Regions from separate parts of the Homo sapiens genome. Here region 1 is linked to region 2. Evidence: promoter capture Hi-C in 16 types of primary human blood cells and fetal thymus (Javierre and others, 2016). All regions are on one chromosome and are shown on one strand. Each heading gives the region's core, a stretch centred on a gene start or on the middle of the fragment in contact. The rest is flanking DNA. Distances are from core to core; before and after follow the strand shown. Region 1 holds the start of MCRS1 (microspherule protein 1). Region 2 holds the start of PRPH (peripherin).

What was found. Contacts are between HindIII fragments. The CHiCAGO score rates a contact against its expected background, and 5 or more counts as called.
Region 1: the fragment with the promoter of MCRS1 here is called in contact with the fragment with the promoter of PRPH in region 2 in 4 of 17 cell types (endothelial precursors, M2 macrophages, erythroblasts and 1 more); the score reaches 12.1 in endothelial precursors.

What each region holds. Positions count from the first base shown.
Region 1 is chr12:49,566,268-49,570,981 of GRCh38, forward strand. It overlaps MCRS1 (microspherule protein 1), which reads right to left and starts at 1,875. Exons shown (of 15, transcript NM_006337.5): 1 at 1,781-1,875; 2 at 455-574. The coding sequence starts at 464. RefSeq lists enhancers at 1,171-1,974, 2,325-2,374. The HindIII fragment of the contact is 9,561 bases long and covers 1-4,714 here.
Region 2 is chr12:49,292,121-49,296,430 of GRCh38, forward strand. PRPH (peripherin) reads left to right here and starts at 3,027. Exons shown (of 9, transcript NM_006262.4): 1 at 3,027-3,625; 2 at 4,058-4,118. The coding sequence starts at 3,081. TROAP-AS1 (TROAP and PRPH antisense RNA 1) reads right to left here. Exons shown (of 8, transcript NR_120449.1): 6 at 3,140-4,310; 7 at 2,328-2,415; 8 at 511-1,776. RefSeq lists enhancers at 519-1,282, 1,283-2,045, 2,125-3,042, 3,043-3,959. The HindIII fragment of the contact is 27,974 bases long and covers 1-4,310 here.

The sequences.
Region 1 (4,714 bases), core at 625-3,124, 270 kb after region 2:
CAAATGGGACCCCTCCCCAGCCCCCTTCCCCTGCCAGCCCTCTTGGCCCCTCCCCTGCCTCCTTGACACTTGAGGTTTTAAGGTAGAGTTCCTTGGCCATCCAGATCCCATCTGGGCTCAGACCTGGCCCAGACCTTCCACGCTGGGCAGTTCCCCCGGTGCCACGTGTCATGTCGTGCAGCACATGGTGCTCAGGTCAGACTGGTGATGCCGACACGCTGGGCTCTGGGCATAACTGCTCCCTCTGCCATCAAAATGCAGCCGTGCTAAAGAGCAGCAGCTCAACAGCAAGTCAGTCAACTGTGGCTCTGCCGACAGGTACATGGGTGGTGCTGGCCCAGGGGGAGGTGGCAAGGCCTAGCCAGGACCGAAAGACACACGTGCCAGGCACAGAGTGGAATCAGCAGATGCTTGGCGCCCGAGCATTTGGGGAGCTGTCCCGGCCTCATACTACCTTTGTCCATCCTCTTACAGTCCCAAAGCCACTGGTTCCAAACCACCGGGCTAGGAGGAACGGTCCCACAGGCTCATCCAAGGATTCTGACCAGGTGAGCTTAAAGGCTGAGAGGAGATTCTGCAAAGGAGAAATGAGGCTCCCTGAGGCTCAGATTTCCAACTGGCCAGCCTCACTTCCTTATACTGGCTCAGGTCCCCCAGGGTCCCATAAGCTAGGGAAGACATAAGGACAGGAAAGAGGCATAAGGCCCCACTCTGCCAATAATAGCCTTAGACATCAGTCTTGTGAAGGTCACTGGCACCTTTCAGAGTATGATAACAGCTATGGACTGCAGAAAAGGGTGCAAACACATACTATTTTAGAGGGTTCATAGACCCTTTAATTCTACTGGTATCTCCTAGGTTAAGCGCCTTGACTATAAACTAGCAAGAGACAAGGGATTCTTTGGCCCACATTTTTCTTTACTTCAGCTGTCCACTCAGCTCAGCAGCACCAGCCTTCCCCTCCCAGGCCAAAGCAGGAAAAAAGAAAGGGAGACAAAACTCCAACCAGTCCATCTCGTTTTTTTTTTGTTTTTCTTTTCCATTTGGGGTTTTTACTGAAGATTTAGTAAGTGGTATTTCCATGAGATACCATCTCGTGGAAACCAAAAACCACTGTTTGGGAACTGCGTGATTATCAACCACGCTGTGCCCCAACAACCCCTAGAGAACCCAGGTACTGGACTTTCTCGGGGCGCTCCTCTCGTGAGTCCCCACTTCTAACCAGGGTGGCTCTTAGCTCAGTGTTCTAGCCCTGTCCCCAGGTGAGCCTGTCGCTCTCCGCTCCATAGGCTACGACTAAGAATCTTGACATCTGAGGAGAGGGCGAAGGGGCCCGAGCTTGCCGGCAAACTGAGGTAGGGTCTGTGCCCCTTCCTTACCGGACCCTCCGCCCCTCGTTCTCCCAAGAGTGCACACCCAAGGTAGGGGATCGGTCCAGGTCTGTCTCAAGAACTCGGGGTAGGAGCATTGATGAAGTCACCTCTGCAACTCAAAGCAGAGCACCAAGTAGCCTTGGTTTGAGACCCACAGGCTGGTGGCTGGGGAGGTGGGGGTAAACTCGCAAGCCCATTCTCACCCCACGGTCTCCATGCCTTTGCGCATGCGTAACACTTCGAGCCAGATTCTAACCCGGTCCGGCCCACGCATGCGCAGCTTTTCGGGGCGCCACTGGGGCGGGGCCCCAAACTTGGGGGGTGGTCGTCCCCGGCGGCACTCTGCAAAACTCCATTTCATCCCCAACTCCTCTGAGAACCCTCAGAGGCGAACCGCGAGGTCTCACCATTCCTAGACTGCCAGATCCAACAATTTCTCCGCGGCGACGGTAGCAGCCGCAGGGCCAAAGCCGGCTTCCGTGAGGTACGTCTACTTCCGGTTAACGAACCAGGGGGCTGGCAATCTCTTCCGGTTCGTCTTGGCAACGTGTGTGAAGGGGGCGTGGCCATGGTACGGAAAGTGTAAATATTTTACCAATAGCGGAAAGTAAAGGCTTTCCTAGTTGGGACAGCATATAGGGAAACGTTAAGGATTATAGGCACCGGAGAGGTAACCCGGCTTGAGGGGTTGGTTAAAGGGAAAGGCGAGACTTAGGGCGAGACCGAGCGGGGCTAATTGAGGCGACCCGGGGAGGGGCGGGACCGCGGACTGGATTTCGACTTCCAAATTCCCACGAGGTATAGGAGTCTGAGGGTTGCACAGGACCTTATGCATTGTTTGACTCCTCCAGAGCCTTTAGAGAAACTTCTATCAGGCCCGCCTGCTAGGCACTAGTCGGGGAGATAATGTAGCCAGGGAGATGTGGCGGACAGAAAGGGCAGAGAGGCTCTCTGAGGAGCGGATGGAGGATCGTGGGCCGCTTTACTGAGAAGGAAGAGACCCTGCGAGAAGGAGTAGTGTCGACTTGGTCCCGTCAGCCGGACCCCACCTGGACGGCTGGGGCCACTTGTGGTCGCCGGGAGGTAAGAGAGAAAACCAATGGAAGCACCTTCAGAGGAGAGTGCCTTGGAAGGAATCTTGGGGTGGGAGAACGAACCTGTCGGAAAAATTGGGAATTTGGGGCTGTGAGAGATGTTCCGGAAAACTAGAAAGACTGTTGTCTAAAAGAGGAATTCTGTTTTATGCTTCCTTTGCGAGGTACTAAAGTCTAGCAGCTATAGAGAGACATACTTCAGCTCAGAATAAGAAAGATTCAGTTCCAAAGCTGTCCATCAGAGGTGTCAAGAACACATAACATGGACATTGCTAGGGAATTCAAGTGTCAAATGAGAGACTGGCCCTTTTGGCCCTGACGGTATACTATGGCCCTCTGCTTCGAGAGTACCAACCTCATTTACTGTTCTGTGGACTTGTTTAATGAGTATGTACTTATTTTAACTCCCATGAAAGAGTGTGTGTTTTATTTTTTAACAGGCACTTGATTAAATATATTATGTAAACTTGTGAAAATATCAGAAAACCAATGAAATTTTTTTTTTTTGAGACAGAGTCCCGCTCCATAGCCCAGGCTGGAGTGCAGTGGCACAATCTCGGCTCACTGCAACCTCCGGCCCCCGGGTCTCGGTTCAGGCAATTCTCCTGCCTCAGCCTCCCGAGTAGCTAGGATTACAGGCACGTGCCACCATGCCCAGCTAAGTTTTTTTTTTTTTTTTTTTGTAGAGACAGGTTTTCACCATGTTGGCCAGGCTGGTCTTGAACTCCTGATCTCATGATCAGGCTGCCTCGGCCTCCCAAAGTGCTGGGATTACAGGCATGAGCCACAGCACCCGGCCTGAAATAATTTTTATAAAAAGTGATTACACAGAACATTAATAATATTAATGTTATTAAATATATATGAATTCATGATAACTATTAAAAACATACAAAGGAAAAGACAGTTGAAGGAAATGCACCAGAATGTTAACACATGTCCAAGTGGTAGTAGTAGTAATTCTTCTCTCTAATTATTTTCCAGTTTTTTAATACATGGTTTTTAAATTTTGTTTTATTTTTTTTGAGACAGAGCCTTCCTCTGTCACCCAGGCTGGAGTGCAGTGGAGCGATCTCGGCTCCTGCAACCTACACCTCCCGGGTTCAAGCGATTCTCATGCCTCAGCCTCCTGAGTAGCTGGGATTGCAGGTGTGCGCCACCATGCCTGGATAATTTTTGTGTTTTTAGTAGAGATGGGGTTTCACTATGTTGACCAGGATGGTCTCAAACTCCTGACCTCAAATGATTCACGCACCTCAGCCTCCCAAAGTGCTGGGATTACAGGTGTGAGCCACTGCGCCCGGCCATATTTTACAATGAAAAAAAAAATAGGTTCTACACAACTTCTTTTTATTGATTGATTGATTTTGAGGCAGAGTCTCGCTCTGTCACCCAGGCTGGAGTACAGTGGCACAATCTCGGCTCACTGCAACCTCCACCTCCTGGGTTCAAGTGATTGTCCTGCCTCAGCCTCACAAGTAGCTGAAATTACAGGTGCCTGCCACCTGCCTGGCTTATTTTTGTATTTTTAGTAGAGACGGGGTTTCGCCATGTTGGCCAGGCTCGTCTCGAACTCCTGGCCTCAAATAATCCACCCGCCTCAGCCTCCCAAAGTGCTGGATTACAGGCGTAAGCCACTGCACTGAGCCACAACTTCCTGAGTGAAAGAGGAGAAAGGAAAACTCTTGGCTTCCAGCTGCCTGAGGTAATTCCTTCCCCCAAGGTGTCACGAGGGAAAGGTGGTGGTCACCATCATCTCCTGTTTGGTACCTGGAAACTCAAACTTCCCCTCTGGTCCTCAATCCTCCCTACTATTGGATAAAAAGAAACCTAGGCACCCTTGTGGTATGGATGCAGGGATTTCTAAAGGGCAGCTTCCTGCTCAAGATTGTGTTTTCTGTTTACACAGCGTGGTGGACTATACTAGCTATAGTTAGTATATATAGTATAGTATCTATACTAGATGAAAGTTCTCAGGATGGTCTTCTATGAAGAGGTGATGACTGAGCTGAGATTTGATGTCGATAGGCAACCAGTCATACAATAAGGTGGGGTACACCGACCCCATCAGAGGGGATAGCTCTGGCTCCAAAGCAGGAAGGAGTTTGGTGAGTTTGAGGAACAGGAAGGACCCCGGTGTGGCTGGAGCAGGGCGATCAATAAAAAGAGGGAAAGAGTTGAGAACAGAGGAGTCATCAGAGGGCAGCCCATGCCAGCCCGTGTAGTTCTCAGTATGGATTTTGGCCT
Region 2 (4,310 bases), core at 1,777-4,276:
TGAAGCACCGTCTCTACCAAAAATATGAAAAAATTAGCCGGGCGTGGTAGCAGGCGCCAGTCATCCCAGCTACTCAGGAGGCTGAGGCAGGAGAATGGCGTGAACCCGGGAGGCGGAGCTTGCAGTGAGCTGAGATCGTGCCACTGCACTCCAGCCTGGGCGACAGAGCGAGACTATGTCTCAAAAAAAAAAAAAGGAAGAAAAAAGAAAGAAAGAGAGAAAGAAAGAAAGAAAGAAAATGGGGTGAACAGAGGTTAAGTCACTCAGAAAACCCAAAGCACACAGCTAATTAAGGTGAGCAGCCATGAATGAACCTGCACCATCTGCCCAGAGTCCCGGTCCACCAGGGGAGGATGAGGCCAGGGAGGACTTGGCTTCTTCCGCCTTGGGTCCAAGCACTACTTTCAGCAACCAGGGGCACAGTCCAAAAGAAGCCCAGACTCTCACTGCTCTTGGGGCTGACATTATCACTCTGGAGGTTAATAATAATAGCAATAATAAAACCAGCTTCCATTTTCAGGCTTTAAGATGTGTGTCCTAAGCACTTCACATGTATTTATTTATTCCTTTAGTCCTCCCAACAACACTATGAGGTAGAAGCTACAGTTAGTTATCTCCCTTTTCTTGAGGGACATGAAGGGACGTAGTGACGAGCCTAAATTCTACAACAGAGTGGTGGATCAGATGGGAAGTGTGGCAGCTGGATGCCAGAGCCCGGCTCTTAACCCAGACTCTTTGCCTACCTTTGCTCCGCCTGGAGTTGCTGGCCTGCTCCTTCTGCTTTAGGGGAGGAGCCTCTTCTGCCTGGCAGTTCCCCACCCAGGCCTGATCCACAGCTCCAGAGCCCTGCTGTGGCAGCCCTCTGTCCCTTCTCCTCCGAGGCATGTAGGTGGCCAGCGGAGCCCTTAAGCAGGGTGAGGACGGGAACTCCATCTGGAACTCCCCAGGCCCAGCTGCAGCCCCAGCAGCCTCTACTCTCAGAGGCTTGGGTCCCCCACTAGTGCCCTGTAGACAGGGCCTGAGCTGGTCCTCCCCAGGCCTTGCCCGCCTCTCCTGATGCAGAGCTGGCTCCCTGCTCCTGGAGGGTGGGGCCAAATCCGGGATAGATGGGGCTCCAGGCCAACAGCAGCTGGGGCTCAGTGCCCAGGACTGCGGCAGGAAGCACCAAGGCTTCCCTAGCCCCTCCTCACACCCACCAAGCCTCCCGGCCCTATCCCGGGTGGGACCCTACCCCTCCCAATTCCCAGGAGTTAGGGGAGGCCAAGCTGTCATTTATTCGTCCTGTCCCATCTCTCCCTTCCTCCCGCTTCCCACTCCCCTGGCAACCAAACCAGACCCATCAAGGAGAAGGAACTGGCAGCTGTGCAGGGAGAGACTAATGGCCCGGAAGGAAGGAGGGGCCTGGAAAGGAGACGAAGGCGGTAGGGACGTGAGCAGGGCGTTGGCCCTGGCCCATCTCACAGGACGCACAAAGGGGGGAGGGGGCTGCTGCCCTGCAATACTGAGGAGCTGGCCAGCCAGGGAGCCGCCCTCCTTACCCCCAGCCAGATATCCAGGCAGGAACCTGAAACCTGCTTCCCCAGATGCACTCTCTTGTCCTCAGGTCCCATCTGAGGCAGACCTGTCTCACAGGACAGCGCTGGAGTCCCCAGCAGCAGCAGCAGCCCCAGCCCTATGGTTCCTGGCAAACCCAGCAGACCTCAGCAACCCGGCTCCTGCAGACCATCCGAGCTGCCTCTGTCCACTCCTGGGCAGGTTGTGCTTGCATTCTGGAAGCTGTTTGACATACAAAGGCCAGATATCAGCCTTCTCGCTAACTCTGGAGTAGGGGAGGGTGTGGTGGGATGTGTGATTGTGTGTGTATGTGTGTGTATGTAGTGTGTGTGCGCATAGATATACAAAGCTGTGTGTATGCATCTGTTTGCGTGCGCAGGTTTGTGGACCTGTTCTGGGGCCTTCTCTCTTTCAGACTGCTGGGGATGGGCACTTTCTCTTTCCCCATCTCTTCCCCATCCAGCCCCACCCATCCCTGGTACCTGCAACTCATCAATACTGGAAACCAGCTCCTGCCAGTCCATCCATCTCTCAGCCTTGGCAGCCGCTGTTGCCCCTCAGCCCCCTCCCCTTCCTACCTCAGGAATCACTCTGGTTCCTGTAAAGCCCATGACTGAGCAGCAATTGGTGTGGGGTTGGGGGGAGGGAGAATCCAGTAAACCAAGACAGAATACAAAAGGCCCACTTAGCCCAGCCCGTGGCATGGGGCAGACCCTCCCGAGTGGGATCCAGAGCTGGGTCCAGCCACCCTCAGCCCCCTATGATGTACCCACCTCATTGGGGCTTGTTGCGGGGTAGGTCTAGGTTTGGGGGCTGTGTCTTTAAGGCTGAAACATCAGCAGACAACCTCTGCTGGGCCGTCTTCAGGGGAGGGGGAGGGGGGCTGGTCAGCCCATTAGCAGCAGAGCTGGCGCCAGGCACCAGCCCTTCACAGGGCCCTGGGGATTAGGGAGAGTAGCTCTTCCCCAGCCCGATCTGCCTCTGCGCCCCTGTCTCCTATTCCTCTCTGGGTGTGGTGAAGGAGGGGTAGCTGACAGCAGGTGAAAATAGAGCCTGGCCTTCAGGGGGCAAGTCAAGGCACTAGCTATGGGGCCTAAGCCAGGTCAACTCTCCCTCCAGCTGGCCTCCTCCCTACTCCTGTGCCAGAAGCCTGCCCTTTAACTTCAGGTCCTTCTACCTCGCAATTTTCAGGGACTCTAGTTCAAGTCAGGCCTTCCTACCCTAGGTTCTAGCTTTGGGTGCTTGTTGGGAGGAAGTGACCCCCACCCCAGCGGCAACAGGGGGCAATCAAGTGGGTAGAGGCCTGCAACCAGGGAAGGGAGGGGAAGGCGCTCCTGCTGTTCCGCAGGGGTGGGGCATCCCCCTCCCCATACAACCCCCCTCCAGCGGGCCATCAGGCCAGTGGGAGGAGCTGCCCGTGCCCCCCCTGAGACCGCAGGGCTATAAAGCCGCCTCGCAGCGGTCTGCGGCTCCTTCCCAGCCCCCGGCCTAGCTCTGCGAACGGTGACTGCCCATCCTTGGCCGCAATGAGCCACCACCCGTCGGGCCTCCGGGCCGGCTTCAGCTCCACCTCATACCGCCGTACCTTCGGTCCACCGCCCTCACTATCCCCCGGGGCCTTCTCCTACTCGTCCAGCTCCCGCTTCTCCAGCAGCCGCCTGCTGGGCTCCGCGTCCCCGAGCTCCTCGGTGCGCCTGGGCAGCTTCCGTAGCCCCCGAGCGGGAGCGGGCGCCCTCCTGCGCCTGCCCTCGGAGCGCCTCGACTTCTCCATGGCCGAGGCCCTCAACCAGGAGTTCCTGGCCACGCGCAGCAACGAGAAGCAGGAGCTGCAGGAGCTCAACGACCGCTTCGCCAACTTCATCGAGAAGGTACGCTTTCTGGAGCAGCAGAACGCGGCCCTGCGCGGGGAGCTGAGCCAAGCCCGGGGCCAGGAGCCGGCGCGCGCCGACCAGCTGTGCCAGCAGGAGCTGCGCGAGCTGCGGCGAGAGCTGGAGCTGTTGGGCCGCGAGCGTGACCGGGTGCAGGTGGAGCGCGACGGGCTGGCGGAGGACCTGGCGGCGCTCAAGCAGAGGTCAGGGGGCAGGGCTGGGCCGCTGCCGTCGAGGCGAGGTCGAAGCGGCCGTCGAGGCGGCTGCTCTTGCCTCCCCTCGCTTCCCCTCTCCATCAGCAGCCCAAGGGTGTGGCTCCCCTTACCAACCCAGGTGTGTGCGGGCAGCATCCCTGCCCACGGGCTCCAAGTGCCCCCCGCTACCCCTTTGCTCTGAGTGTTTGGGGAGGTGGGAGAAGTGGGTATCTGTGCCTCCCCTGAGTAATGAGGAAACCCCCTTTTCAGCTCCCAGTCCGTTAGAGACAATGCGGGGCAATTCCATTAGACAGCCTCAGCCCTCCATTTAGAGTCCTGGGCAGCAGAACAGCCTCTAACCGGATCCTGGGGGGCGTGCGGTCTGGGGTGCGAGCTGGGCGGCGACCCCGCAGTTCAGCCTCTGCACGCTCTTCCCGTCAGGTTGGAGGAGGAGACGCGCAAGCGGGAGGACGCGGAGCACAACCTCGTGCTCTTCCGCAAGGTGAGTCCGAGCCCCTCTCCGAGTTCAGCCTCCCCACCGCTACCCCCGATCTCAGTATCCAGAGGTGGCATCGGTGGGCGCGGGGAGAAGGGGGTAACCCAGATGCCTCCTGAGGCAGACAGGGAAGGCCTGGTCCTTCCTTGGTCTGCGCAGCCCCTAACTTATCTTGAACCTCCACTGCCACCCCTCGAA